3 separate regions of the Homo sapiens genome follow, and all the other regions are linked to region 3. The links are contacts of gene promoters, found by promoter capture Hi-C in blood cells and fetal thymus (Javierre and others, 2016). All regions are on one chromosome and are shown on one strand. Each heading gives the region's core, a stretch centred on a gene start or on the middle of the fragment in contact. The rest is flanking DNA. Distances are from core to core; before and after follow the strand shown.

Region 1 (4,528 bases), core at 316-2,815, 610 kb before region 3:
CCCCCAGACACGCCCATAGCCACGCGTTCGGGCCTCTTTCGGTCATCTTTTCGCCTCTAGTGAGCACACGATTTAAGGATGATTTGGCTCGTCATTTTGCTGAGGATTTTGTCTAGATAATCATTCCTTGGAACGATCGGAGAAATGCCTCTTTCCCTCCCTGGCTGCCGTCCACACATCGTTGGTGGCAGACTGTGAGGGAAATCGTTAAAATGACTCAAAAGCAATGTGTAACACAAGTGATAGAGCAGGGAGCTTTTCCCCACAGGGTTTGGAGCTACTTGATATTCATAAAATAAAGCAGCTATATACATCTCTGAAGCCAAAAGAGCCATGCAGGGGAAAGGGGTAATTCCCAAAGGACACTATAATTCGTGTTAGTCCTAAACCTATTTCTCACCTGCCATTCCTACTGATTTGTTCCCTGTCCTTAGTCCAAACCTGTCTCGTCTCATAGAAACCTTCCGAACTCACTTCTGTGGTGCAAGCGCTTTTTTCCCAACCCCAAACTCCAATGCCCCACCCTTAGGAAGTGGAGGAAGTCAAGCAGTGGTCTGCAGATTTCCAGATGCACTCAAGGATGATTAAATTTCTCAGAACCTACAAACCTATATTTAATTATTGAAAACGGGCGGGGCGTGGTAGCTCATGCCTGTAATCCCAGCACTTTGGGAGGCCGAGGCGGGTGTATCGGTCAGAAGTTCGAGACCAGCCTGATCAACATGGTGAAACCCTGCCTCTACTAAAAATACAAAAATTAGCCCGGTGTGGTGGCACGTGCCTGTAAACCCACCTACTCCGGAGGCTGAGGCAGAAAAATCGCTTGAACCCGGGAGGCGGAGGTTGCAGTGAGCCAATATCGCACCACTGCACTCCACCCTAGGGAACAACAGCGAAACTCCGTCTTAAAAAAAAAAAAAAAGAAAAAGAAATATTGAAAACGACTACTATGTGCCCAGTACCAAGTTAAATCTCTGGGTAGATCCAAGTTTTGTGTTATGGGGTGTGAGATTTACAGAAATGCTGGGAGTCTTAGGCCGGGCGCGGTGGCTCACGCCTGTAATTCCAGCACTTAGGGAGGCCGAAGTGGACGATCACTTGAGCACAGGAGTTCGAGACCAGCCTGGCCAACATAGTGAAACCCCGTCTCTACTAAAAATACACAAATTAGCCGAGCGTGGTGGCGCGTGCATGTAATTCCAGCTACTTGAGAGGCTGAGGCAGGAGTATCGCTTGAACCCGGGAGGCGGAGGTTGCAGTAGCCGGGATTGCGCCATTGCACTCCAACCTGGGCGACAAGAGTGAAACTCCTTCTAGAAAGAAAGAGAGAAAGACAGAGAGAGAGAAGAAAAGGAAAGAAAAGGAAAAGAAAGGAAGAAGGAAAGAAAGAAATGTTGGGAGTCTTTAAGAAAAATCATATTAAATGACGAATACAAATTTAGGAACAGAGTCTTGGAAGGGCATTGTAAAAGTGAGGGAGGACCCCGAAGCTTAACTTTTTTTTTTTAATAGAGACACGGGAGGTGCGGAGGGAATCTCGCTATGTTGCCCAGGCCGGTCTTGGCCGGTCTTGAATTCCTGGCCTCAAATGATCCTTCTGCTTCGGCCTCCCAAAGTGCTGAGATTACAGGCGCCCAGCCTGAAGCTTAAATTTTACTAGCTTCACATAAATCTGCCTCTAGCGCCATAATTCTTAACCTATTTTGTGCCATTTGGAAGTCTGGTAAAAGCTATGAATCTCTTCTCAGTTTTTAAATGCATGAAACAAAATACAGAGCAATACGAAAGAAACCATTTATATTGAAATACAATTAGGAAATATATTTTAAAACACATTCGTGATATAGTAAGGTTTTACTTTTTTATTTTTTATTTATTTTATTTTTATTTTTTTTTTTTTGAGATGGAGTCTCGCTCTGTCGCCCAGGCTGGAGTGCAGTGGCGCGAACTCGGCTCACTGCAAGCTCCGCCTCCCGGGTTCATGCCATTCTCCCGCCTCAGCCTCTCGAGTAGCTGGGACTATATAGCCTGCCATCATGCCCAGCTAATTTTTTTTTTTTTTTTTTTTTAGTTGAGACGGGGTTTTCACCGTGTTAGCCAGGATGGTCTTGATCTCCTGACCTCATGATCCGCCCGCCTCGGCCTCCCAAAGTGCTGGGATTACAGGCATGAGCCACCGCGCCCAGCTTATTTTTTTATTTTTTTTTGAGACAGAGTCTCGCTGTGTCGCCCAGGCTGGAGTGCAGTGGCGCAATCTCGGCTCACTGCAAGCTCCGCCTCCCGGGTTCACGCCATTCTTCTGCCTCAGCCTCCCGAGTAGCTGGGACTACAGGCGCCAGCCACCACGCCCAGCTAATTTTTTGTATTTTTAGTAGAGACGGGGTTTAACCGTGTTAGCCAGGATGGTCTCGATCTCCTGACCTCGTGATTCGTCCGCCTCAGCCTCCCAAAGTGCTGGGATTACAGGCGTGAGCCACCGCACCCAGCCCAGCTTTTACTTTTTAATTTTTTTTTTTTTTTTTAAACATGTGCTCACTTTATCACCCAGGCTGGAGTGCAATGGTGCAATCTGGGCTCACGGCAACCTCTGCCTCCAGGGCTCAAGCGATCCTCTGACCTCAGCTTCCCCAGTGGCTTGTAGGAACTACAAGCGCTGGCCACCGCTCTGGGCTAATTGTTGTTTTTGTTTTTTTGTGTTTTTTTTTTTTTTCTTTTTTTCAGAGACGGGGTTTCACCATGTTACCCAGGCAGGAACTTTTTCTTTATTAACACAATAACTATTAAGATCTTAGAGCAGATCTAATAACTACAGAAATTGTAGAGTGATATTTCAAGAAATCCATGAGTAGTAAAGTGATATGAAAATGATTTCTATTGGTGACAGAGGGAAAGCTGTTACTAATTCTACTGTGATATGTTGTCTACATTCACAATGGGGAAAAATGCTAAATTTCAGTTAGATGTTAGAGAAAACAAAGATGTAATTTTTTTCCCCATCCAAGTTTAAGTACTCCTTACTTGCATTCAGAGACTCCTTCAAGTCCATTGATGAGAACCCGTGGGTCAGATATGTAATTTTTTTTTTTTTGAGACAGTCTCACTCTGTGGCCCATACTGGAGTGCAGTGGTGCAATCTCAGCTCAATGCAACTTCCACCTCCCGGATTCAAGCGATTCTCCTGCCTCAGCCTCCCAAGTAGCTGGGATTACAGATGCCTGCCATGCATGACATCTGGCTAATTTTTGTATTTTTAGTAGAGGCAGGGTTTCACCATGTTGTCCAGGCTGGTCTCAAACTCCTGACCTCAAATGATCCGCCCACCTCGGCCTCCCAAAGTGTTGGGATTACAGGTGTGAGCCACCGCACCTGGCCTAGATATGTAATTTAAAACGATTCTATCACCCAGTATTTTCTGGGATAATATTTCAAATGTTCTGCTATGTAGTCATCAAAGGTATACTCCACATTTCAGACCATATGTCTTGATTTTTTTACTTGGAAAGAAAATTATTGTATAGATACAGATATTCATGAATTCAATATTCCACAAATATGTATTGCATGCCTCTATATAAAAATCATGGAGTTGGCCAGCATGGTGGCTCATGCCTGTGGTCCCAACACTTTGGGAGGCCAAGGCAGGCAGATCACCTGAGGTCGGAAGTTCAAGACCAGCCTGACCAACATGGAGAAACCCGGTCTCTACTACAAATACAAAAATTAGCTGGGCATGGTGGCGCATGCCTGTAATCCCAGCTACTCAGGAGGCTGAGGCAGGAGAATCACTTGAACCCGGGAGTCAGAGGTTGTGGTGAGCTGAGATCGCGCCATTGCACTCCAGCCTGGGCAACAAGAGTGAAACTCCAACTCAAAAAAAAAAAAGAAAGAAAGAAAAATCATGGAGTTAAGAGTAGAGAAAGCCAGGCACAGTGGCTCATGCCTGTAATTCCAGCACTTTGGGAGGCCGAGGCAGGTGGATCATGTGGTCAAGAGATCTAGACAATTCTAGCCAGTATGGTGAAACCCCATCTCTACTGAAAATACAAAAATTAGCTGGGCATGGTGGCGCACGTCTGTAGTCCCAGCTACTTAGGAGGCTGAGGCAGTAGAATCGCTTGAACCCAGGAGGCAGAGGTTGCAGTGAGCCAAGATCACGCCACTGCATTCCAGCCTGGCGACAGAGCAAGACTCCATCTCAAAAAAAAAAAAAAAAAAAAGCCAGGCACGGTGGCTCATGCCTGTAATCCCACCACTTTGGGAGGCTGAGGCGGGAGGATTGTTTGTGTTCAGGTGTTCAAGACCAGCCCAGGCAACATGCTGAAACCCCGTCTCAACAAAAGTTGCAAAAATTAGCCGGCTGTGGTGGCACATGCCTGTAGTACCAGCTACCCAGGAGGCTGAGGTAGGAGGATCACTTGAGACTGGGAGGTGGAGGTTGCAGTGAGCAAGTGAATGCACCACTGCACTCCAGCCTGGGCAACAGAATGAGATCCTGTCTTAAAAATAAATAAATAAATAAATAAATAAA
Region 2 (4,197 bases), core at 986-3,485, 690 kb after region 3:
TATTTCCGTGTTTAATTGGGCCAGTAGGAATGACAAAATGAAAAGAATAATTAGTGATCACTCGATGATCTAAGGTAGTATTTGTAAGCTTTCATTTTTCCAGGTTCTTTGCTGAAATTGAGTTTATTTAGGTAACCCTGTCTTCTTCACTCATTCCAAGTTCCTAAAAGTTGTAGAAGACTAACAGCACAGTCCTGGGATGTTCTTTTTTCCTTTCACCCTGTTTGTATGCATTGCCACAGTAGTTTTGCAAGCATGCAACTGGCTTTCAAAAAAGAATGAAATTTCAAATACTTCAATGTGTTCTCATTTAAACAGAAAAGCCCTACGTATCTATTAGCATAGGAAAAGGTGTGAAAGGATACAAATCAAATCTAACATTGGATATGAGGAGGTGTTGGCTTTATGCTGTATACTGTTGTTTTAGGTTTGACTTATGATGAACATATACTTGATAATTTAAAAATCCAGTCAAGTTTTCCAAGTATCAGCTACATTGGGGAAGGAGTATGCATTTCTCATCTATGAAAACTAGTTTGGTATTGTGTTTACTTGGTTACCCTATTTTGGCTATAAAGGTCGTAGGTGATAAAAAGTAAGGATTTAACTTTGAACCCTTAGTTAAGATGTGGTTCTCTTCCTGCAGGGAACAAGTGCAGAACAGGATAATCGGTTCAGCAACAAACAGAAGAAACTACTGAAGCAGCTGAAATTTGCAGAATGCCTAGAAAAAAAGGTATTCTTCTGGATGAGACTGTTGTGCATCTTTATAGCACACTTACTTGACTCAAGTTCTGGGGTTGTTTTGGAGATGCATTGTAACTTGAATGCTAAGAAAAACATAATTGAACATTAACCACCTTTTAGCCACCACACGTGGCACAGCCATATAAGAATTAGCAGATTGTGGCTGGGCGAGGTGGCTCACGCCTGTAATCCCAGCACTTTGGGAGGCCGAGGCGGGCAAATCACAATGTCAGGAGATTGAGACCATCCTGGCTAACACGGTGAAACCCTGTCTCTACTAAAAATACAAAAAATTAGCCGGGCGTGGTGGCGGGTGCCTGTAATCCCAGCTAATTGGGAGGCTGAGGCAGGAGAATGGCACGAACCTGGGAGGCGGAGCTTGCAGTGAGCTGAGCACCACTGCACTCCAGCCTGGGCAAGAGTGCAAGACTCTGTCTCAAAAAAAAAAAAAAAAAATTAGCAGATTCTACTATGCCAAACAAAAAAACTAAGCTAAAAGGAACTTTGGTAGACAGAACTCTAACTTGAGCATTTTTTTTTAGGATTGTGAAGTTGTACTTAATTGTTTCTATGTTTCATCAGGTGGACATGAGCAAAGTAAATTTGGAGGTTATAAAGCCTTGGATAACAAAAAGAGTAACGGAAATCCTTGGGTTTGAAGATGATGTTGTGATTGAGTTTATATTCAACCAGCTGGAAGTGAAGGTACTAATATACAAATGGCTCTTGTTTCTGAATATGTGATATAATTTGTGAATCTTTGGAAACTGAATTTTTTCTATGGAGTGCAAATATAGAAGGGTTATTTTACAATGTTTGTTGTGAAAAGAATTCACTTTGTAAACAACTATTAAGGCTGGAAGTTTAGTGAAGGTGCATAGTTTTGAAAGCTACACAGGTGAAAAATCAAACTTATTGTTTGTAATTTTGCTGTTACATGTTAAGTTACTTTGACAGCAATTTTCTAATGATAATGTGATTTATGATTTAAAAGGCCTGAACCAAAATGGAAGTTATTCCTTGCGTCTGAAGTATAGCACCATCACCTTATTAGGTCACAGCAGAGTGAGTGTCCCAATGTCGCTCTGACCCAACTCCCTTGATGATGCAGTGTGTGTTTGGAGGTGAGTTGTGTAAAGTGGCCAAACATCAACAACAACAACAAAAAACACAAACAGGAAAGAGCAATTGGGTAAAGCTGTACACTGCTCTTTTAAAATACTATTATGAGATGGACATTTATGTGAAGCATGAGGGGCAATTCTGATTTGATTGGATATTGTTTTTAAAGGAACTAAGGTCTTTGTAGCTGCATGTCAGCTAGTCATCAGTTACATTTTAGAGACAGGATTTTTGTTTATACTTAAACTTCAGACAAATTGGCAGCATATAATTGTTCCTTTATACATGAGATAATATGATGATATAACTGATGTTTAAGAACATTCTTATTGTAAGACAGTTTCTGTTTTGCCACAGCAACCCAAAGGACAGTTAAGATATGTACCATATGACCTTTTTGCATATATACCAATGTGAATTTACTTTTACATTAATCATTTCCCCCAAAGAGTTCACCCTATGTTTTGACAGAACAGTTGGCATTTCAACTGATAAGGTATTTCTAGTTTTAAAATAATTTGGTGTTTGTATTTTGTTTTGAATATTTTTAAAGACTAATTTTAAGAATGCACTTTCTATAAAGTATATGCATCTTAGAAAACCAGGAACAGGGGAGAAAGTTTTTTAAATGATGATTGAAGATAGATTTTATTGGAGAAATGCTTTACTGATGTGTATTTTAGTGCATTTTAAAAACCTAAGTATCTGGTAGTATTCCCCTTGTAGTGAGCATGAGATTAAAGTTTAGAACTTTTTAAGACAATTCTTTTTTTGTGGTTGTGTACTCATTATTGCTTGTTCGTCTTTTGCAATTTAGATAAATGATATAACATTAAACTCAAGGTGGTTGAGTTGCAGTAGGGAGTCGGAAGCAAGCCAAGGGAACATCTTTCTCTACAGGGGACTTGGCGATTCCAAACCCCCAAGGTTCCAAGAAGAAACTGAAGACACCTGGAATCTGTACTTGCTTTGTGCTATTGAGCTGTGCTTGTTATACAGACCTTGTTGCTTGACCAACGGATTTAGCATTTAAAAACCCAATTATTTTTGAGAAATCTTGACCTCTTAGCACTTTGTGGACAGTTGAGAATTTGAGGCATTGTTATAATAGATTTTCCTTATATAAAACTCAGGCCTTTAGCTTAGCCCTCAGAAGTTACAGACTGCATGCATAACTTGTTAGTTTTCATAACTGGACAATAGATATTTTATGCAAAGCTATCTGTAGTGTTAGGGAGCAGTTTATGTACTTTTTCCGTTTCTCATTGGGGGAAAATTTCCAGGCAAGCAAATACTTTTCTTGTTAGTAAATACTAGAATTTGTGGATGTTTCATGATGGTTTTTAAAGTTAATAAATGTAAGGCCCACTAACAGCCACAGAGTCTAAAAATACTTACGAAATCCACAAAGGATTAACAGGCTGCTCTGATGCTTTTGGTAGAGTGAGAGAGAATTTGGTAATCTGTTAGAGATTATATTGCTGAGAAGCTACTAGGGAAGACTATTTGTAAAATAGTAAGGACTATATATATGTCTAAGCCCCTATGGTAGACTTAAAAAATACTAATTTAAATGAGTTTTAGGTTGGTTGATTTGTTGGTTGGTTGGTTTTGAAGTAACCTGTTTTTCTTCCTGTCGTGTCTTTTTGCAGAATCCAGACTCCAAAATGATGCAAATCAACCTGACTGGATTTTTGAATGGAAAAAATGCTCGAGAATTTATGGGAGAACTGTGGCCCCTGCTGCTAAGTGCACAAGAAAACATCGCGGGAATCCCTTCTGCTTTCCTAGAACTGAAGAAAGAAGAAATAAAACAAAGACAGGTAATAACCTTTTCTTTTCTGTAATGTCGATTTGAGAGTATTGGCCAGGCTGCCGAGACACCTTAGGTAGTATATGACTCAGCTAGGATCTTCATGTAGTTTTGCTTTGCTGTACTGTATTTAAACATTCAGTTTTGGTTCACTGCTCCTCCCTCCAACCAAACATTGAGTTTAGAATGTCATTTTCCCAGTCTAGTGATTTGCTAGATTTTTACAAATTCTTAATATGTGAGTGCATGTAGCTTAAAAGAAATTTGAATTTAACACTGAAAGGTAAGCATAAGGATTTTTGGTTTGTTGTTTTTTTGAGACACAGTTTCAGTCTGTCACCCAGGCTAGAGTGCAGTGGTGTGGTCTCTGCTCACTGCAGCTTTCACCTCCTGAGTTCAAGCGATTCTCATGCCTCAGTCTCCTGAGTAGCTGGGATTACAGGCGCACACCACCACATCCAACTCATTTTTGTATTTTTAGTACAGACGGGATTTTGCCATGTTGGCCAGACTTG
Region 3 (4,088 bases), core at 362-2,861:
TACTTCTTATTTGAATATGATTAGCATCAGAAAGTCCCTATGCTCAAAAATACCTCTTTTATCAAATTAGATTAACAAACTGCATCCCGTAAGATGCAGTAACTTTTCTTAAGATCCAATGGCTAGAATATAGGAATTTGGGTTGGATTGGGAAGTGGGGGATAACGGTGGCAAAAAATTGAAGATTAAAAAACGAAATACAGGCCGGGTGTGGTGGCTCACGCCTGTAATCCCAGCACTTTGAGTGGCTGAGACGGGCGGATCACGTGAGGTTAGGAGTTTGAGACCAGCCTGGCCAACATGATGAAATCCTGTCTCTACTAAAAATACAAAAATTAGGAGGGTGTGGTGGCAGGCGCCTGTAATCCCAACTACTCAGGAGGCTGAGGCAGGAGAATCGCTTGAGCCCAGGAGGCGGAGGTTGCAGTGAGCCGAGATTGTGCCACTGCACTCCAGCCTGGGCGACAGAAGGAGACTCCGTCTCAAAAATAACGAATTACATGAGATTTATAAAAAGTTGGTAAATATAAATTCTGTAACGTAAACTTGGGTATATATGTGTATACACGAACAAACTGTGAATGAGACTGATTTTGTACCGTTTGGCCCAGAATTATTCACGCTCATTGAAATTAGTGCTCTTTTAAAAGATTCACATTGGGTTACTTATACATTTACTCCAAAGAAATTGCCATTTTCCCCTTACCTGCATCTGGCTGGCATAATCAACTGAACAATATTCTCTTTCTTCCCCTTTTTCACTTACAAGTGGGGCAGAAAGGGGAGGAGAGCAGTCCTCATTCTTTCAGCAAACTTACTGTGCACTTACAACGCGCGAAGGCGCTGTGCTCAGAGAAACAAAACCTAACCGGTTGTGGCCCTCGAGGGTGTGTGGGTGGGGAGAGCTGCAGCCACAGGAAACGGTAACACGGCGCGTAAAGGGCTCTAATTGAACTTAAGGACCAATGGGGCCACCAAGCAGGAAGTGACTGACTTGCCCGCGTGTGTCTGAACCGCCTTCACAGGGAGGCAACTTTTGAGTAATTGCGGGGCTGGAGGGTGGGGGCACTGGAGGGAACCGCGGGGAGGCGCCGGCTTCGGACGCGGAGTTGTGGGTGTGGGAGAGAGGCGACCCAGAAGCCGAGGCCCGAGGCGGGAGGGGGCTGCGCCCTGGCAAGAGGCTTTCCGGAGTATCTTCCATCTGTCAATACAGGCTACAGGACTCAGTGGCCCTAATTCGAGAACCAAACGTCCCCCGCCGGTCAGTCTTTTCCCCCAGGGCAGTCCCAAGGGCGGCGAGCCCGCGCGCACGAGAGCCGAGCGGTAGGAAGAGCCGAGAGCTAGCGGCCGGGGCCTCGGCGGGCCAGGGGCGCGGAGAGGCCGCCGGAGAAAGGACTAAGACACCGGTGGACCGAGCAGTTACTCCCGGCATGCTCCTCCTCCCCGGGCAGATTTCAAACCCTCTGCAGCCCCACCTCCGCGCCTTCGCCCCCGGCCAGCCCCAGCAACAGGCGGCGGCCCGCTTCTCATTGGCCAGGCCCGCGCTGTCGTGTTTTGATTGGCCGCGGAGCCTCCCGGCCCTGCTTCTGCAGTCGCTGCCGACTCCATTTTGTCGGTAGAGGCAGAAGGAGAAGGTCGGGTTGTAGAAGCTGGGGTGGCCGGCAGCTCGCTCATCGGTGTTCGTGGGCTTTGTCGGTCCGTGCCTCGTCTCTCCCTGGAAAGGGAGGGAGGCTTCGACGTCGAGAGGGAGCCGCTGCCGCGTTAGTTCCGAGCTTGAAGTCAGTAAGTAGCGGCTGCGCTAAGGGCGCGGCCATGTTGGTGGCCGCGCTCCCCATTGTTGGAGGAAGGAGGCGAGCGGAGGCGAGATCCGGGTAACCCGGGCGGGCGCGGGCGGTCACGGGCGGTCGCAGCGCCGCGACCCCTGCGGCTCCGGAGAGATGGGGCCACTGGGAAGCCAAGCCCTTGTGGCGTCGGAGGAGGCGTTTTCCGGGTTCGAGTTGGGAATTACTCACAGTCCGGAAATGGCAATTTATTTAGGGTTGTTTATCTGTTTGGAAAGCTCTCTTACCCCTTTGAAAGGAGGGGGCTTAACTATTTGGTAACTTATTTTCTTGGAACATCAAATTAAAACCAAACCTTGAAAGTTAAGCTGTTCCCTCTAGGGAGACATTTTTATATATTTAAGATGGGCTTAGACTGTTAGGGCTTGTGAGAACTTATTTTAAGACGGGGAGGAGGCGAGAGCGTTCATAACCAAAGGAAACACTGCGTGATGTCTACATGTTCCAAGAGACTGAAAATGGATGTGACATGTGTGGAAAGATTGGAAAATTCTGGTGGGAGTTTAAAAACACGGTCTCTTTAGAAAATCCGCCTGAAGCCAATTTTTTGATATGACTCAACATTTAACACTTCCTTGATTTTATACGCGAGAGAATCTGAAGGTCTTTCCCAGGAAAAAGATAAAGATAAAACTTATTGCGGGACTTGGAGACACTTACAAAAATTCCCCAGGAGTGACTGGATCTCAAGGGTGAAGAGTTTTTTTAAATGGTCGTGGTTATAAGGTCAAAGAAAGCCATCTTACGAGAAATTTTCTACCTTTTAGTTCAGGAAGTAGCCTTCTTTACAGTCAACGATTTTCGTAGTAAATCTAAATGATCACTTTCTCAACGTGTTTTTGAAATAATGAAGTAATCTTTACTTTTCTAGCTAGGACTTCTCTCAAACTTGTGTGCTGAGGAGACTCAGATGTTGGCCTCAGCTCCTAGGCTGAACTCAGCAGATCGGCCCATGAAAACTTCTGTATTGAGACAAAGGAAGGGATCTGTCAGAAAGCAACACTTGTTATCTTGGGCTTGGCAGCAAGGAAGAGGACAGGTAGTGGAGATCCTGCAATCTGAAAAGCAGACTGAAAGGTAATCATCATAATGGGCAAACATTTTATGATGGAACCATCCTAAACCAATTGTTTTTATTTTAAAATAGATTATGTAGATTTGTGGGTAAGCTCATTTTTCTTAGGGAAGGTATAACAATAAAGGTTGTGCATATATTGAAGTCTGAACGGCTTGCTTTTTTGAGTTTAAAGCAGCTGAATAGCCTGTTATTGAGTCTTGTCCAAAATATCTGGAGTTATAAGTTGGAGCCATAGAAGCTTCTTAAAGATTTTGAACTTTTCTTAATGGAATTTTACTCAATATTTGTTTCCATTCACTTGTAGGTGACAAAGAAGCTGAAGATGGGTGGTGGAGAGAGGTATAACATTCCAGCCCCTCAATCTAGAAATGTTAGTAAGAACCAACAACAGCTTAACAGACAGAAGACCAAGGAACAGAATTCCCAGATGAAGATTGTTCATAAGAAAAAAGAAAGAGGACATGGTTATAACTCATCAGCAGCTGCCTGGCAGGCCATGCAAAATGGGGGGAAGAACAAAAATTTTCCAAATAATCAAAGTTGGAATTCTAGCTTATCAGGTCCCAGGTTACTTTTTAAATCTCAAGCTAATCAGAACTATGCTGGTGCCAAATTTAGTGAGCCGCCATCACCAAGTGTTCTTCCCAAACCACCAAGCCACTGGGTCCCTGTTTCCTTTAATCCTTCAGATAAGGAAATAATGACATTTCAACTTAAAACCTTACTTAAAGTACAGGTATAAAATAAGACAAATGTTTAAATTTAGTTATGTTCACGGATAGTTGTCAATTGGTCTGAAACAAATTCGCTAGGGAATCTATTTGTGTAGAACTAATTAATGTAAAAAAAATAGACCATCTCGTGTTGTGTGCACTGTGATATAATGGTAGTATCAGTGCAACTTAAACTAATGATTGTACTTGATATTAAGTGTTCTCAACTGAGTAACTTTTAAGTGGAAACCAAGTTTAGATTTGGGGAGTGGTAAAGGAATCAGCTTTTTCTATTGTTAGGGGAAGACAGTAATTTATCATTCATGGACCAGTAGATTGTTGAAAGTTGGTGAATCGGATTATAAGCTTCTAGCTAACACAAGGATTCAGAATTAGGTAAACATCTGAAGGTTTAGTATATTAGAAACACCCAAACCAGTAATATGCTAACCTGAT

Evidence for each region. The method cuts DNA at HindIII sites, captures the fragments that hold promoters and counts their contacts. A CHiCAGO score of 5 or more calls a contact.
Region 1: a contact is called between a fragment that was not itself captured here and the fragment with the promoter of PNRC2 in region 3, in 1 of 17 cell types (neutrophils). The highest score is 5.4, in neutrophils.
Region 2: a contact is called between a fragment that was not itself captured here and the fragment with the promoter of PNRC2 in region 3, in 1 of 17 cell types (fetal thymus). The highest score is 5.9, in fetal thymus.

What each region holds. Positions count from the first base shown.
Region 1 is chr1:23,344,801-23,349,328 of GRCh38, forward strand. No RefSeq gene overlaps it. Among named protein-coding and RNA genes, the nearest start is that of HNRNPR, 2.8 kb to the left of the region's middle. RefSeq lists an enhancer at 1 and a silencer at 1-26. The HindIII fragment of the contact is 155 bases long and covers 1,489-1,643 here.
Region 2 is chr1:24,645,338-24,649,534 of GRCh38, forward strand. SRRM1 (serine and arginine repetitive matrix 1) reads left to right here. Exons shown (of 17, transcript NM_005839.4): 2 at 647-736; 3 at 1,330-1,452; 4 at 3,522-3,692. Among named protein-coding and RNA genes, the nearest start is that of SRRM1, 4.1 kb to the left of the region's middle. The HindIII fragment of the contact is 4,299 bases long and covers 87-4,197 here.
Region 3 is chr1:23,958,217-23,962,304 of GRCh38, forward strand. PNRC2 (proline rich nuclear receptor coactivator 2) reads left to right here and starts at 1,612. Exons shown (of 3, transcript NM_017761.4): 1 at 1,612-1,782; 2 at 2,713-2,918; 3 at 3,224-4,088. The coding sequence starts at 3,242. The coding sequence ends at 3,661. RefSeq lists enhancers at 1-470, 649-708, 1,609-1,878 and silencers at 789-888, 1,299-1,408. The HindIII fragment of the contact is 4,127 bases long and covers 1-3,155 here.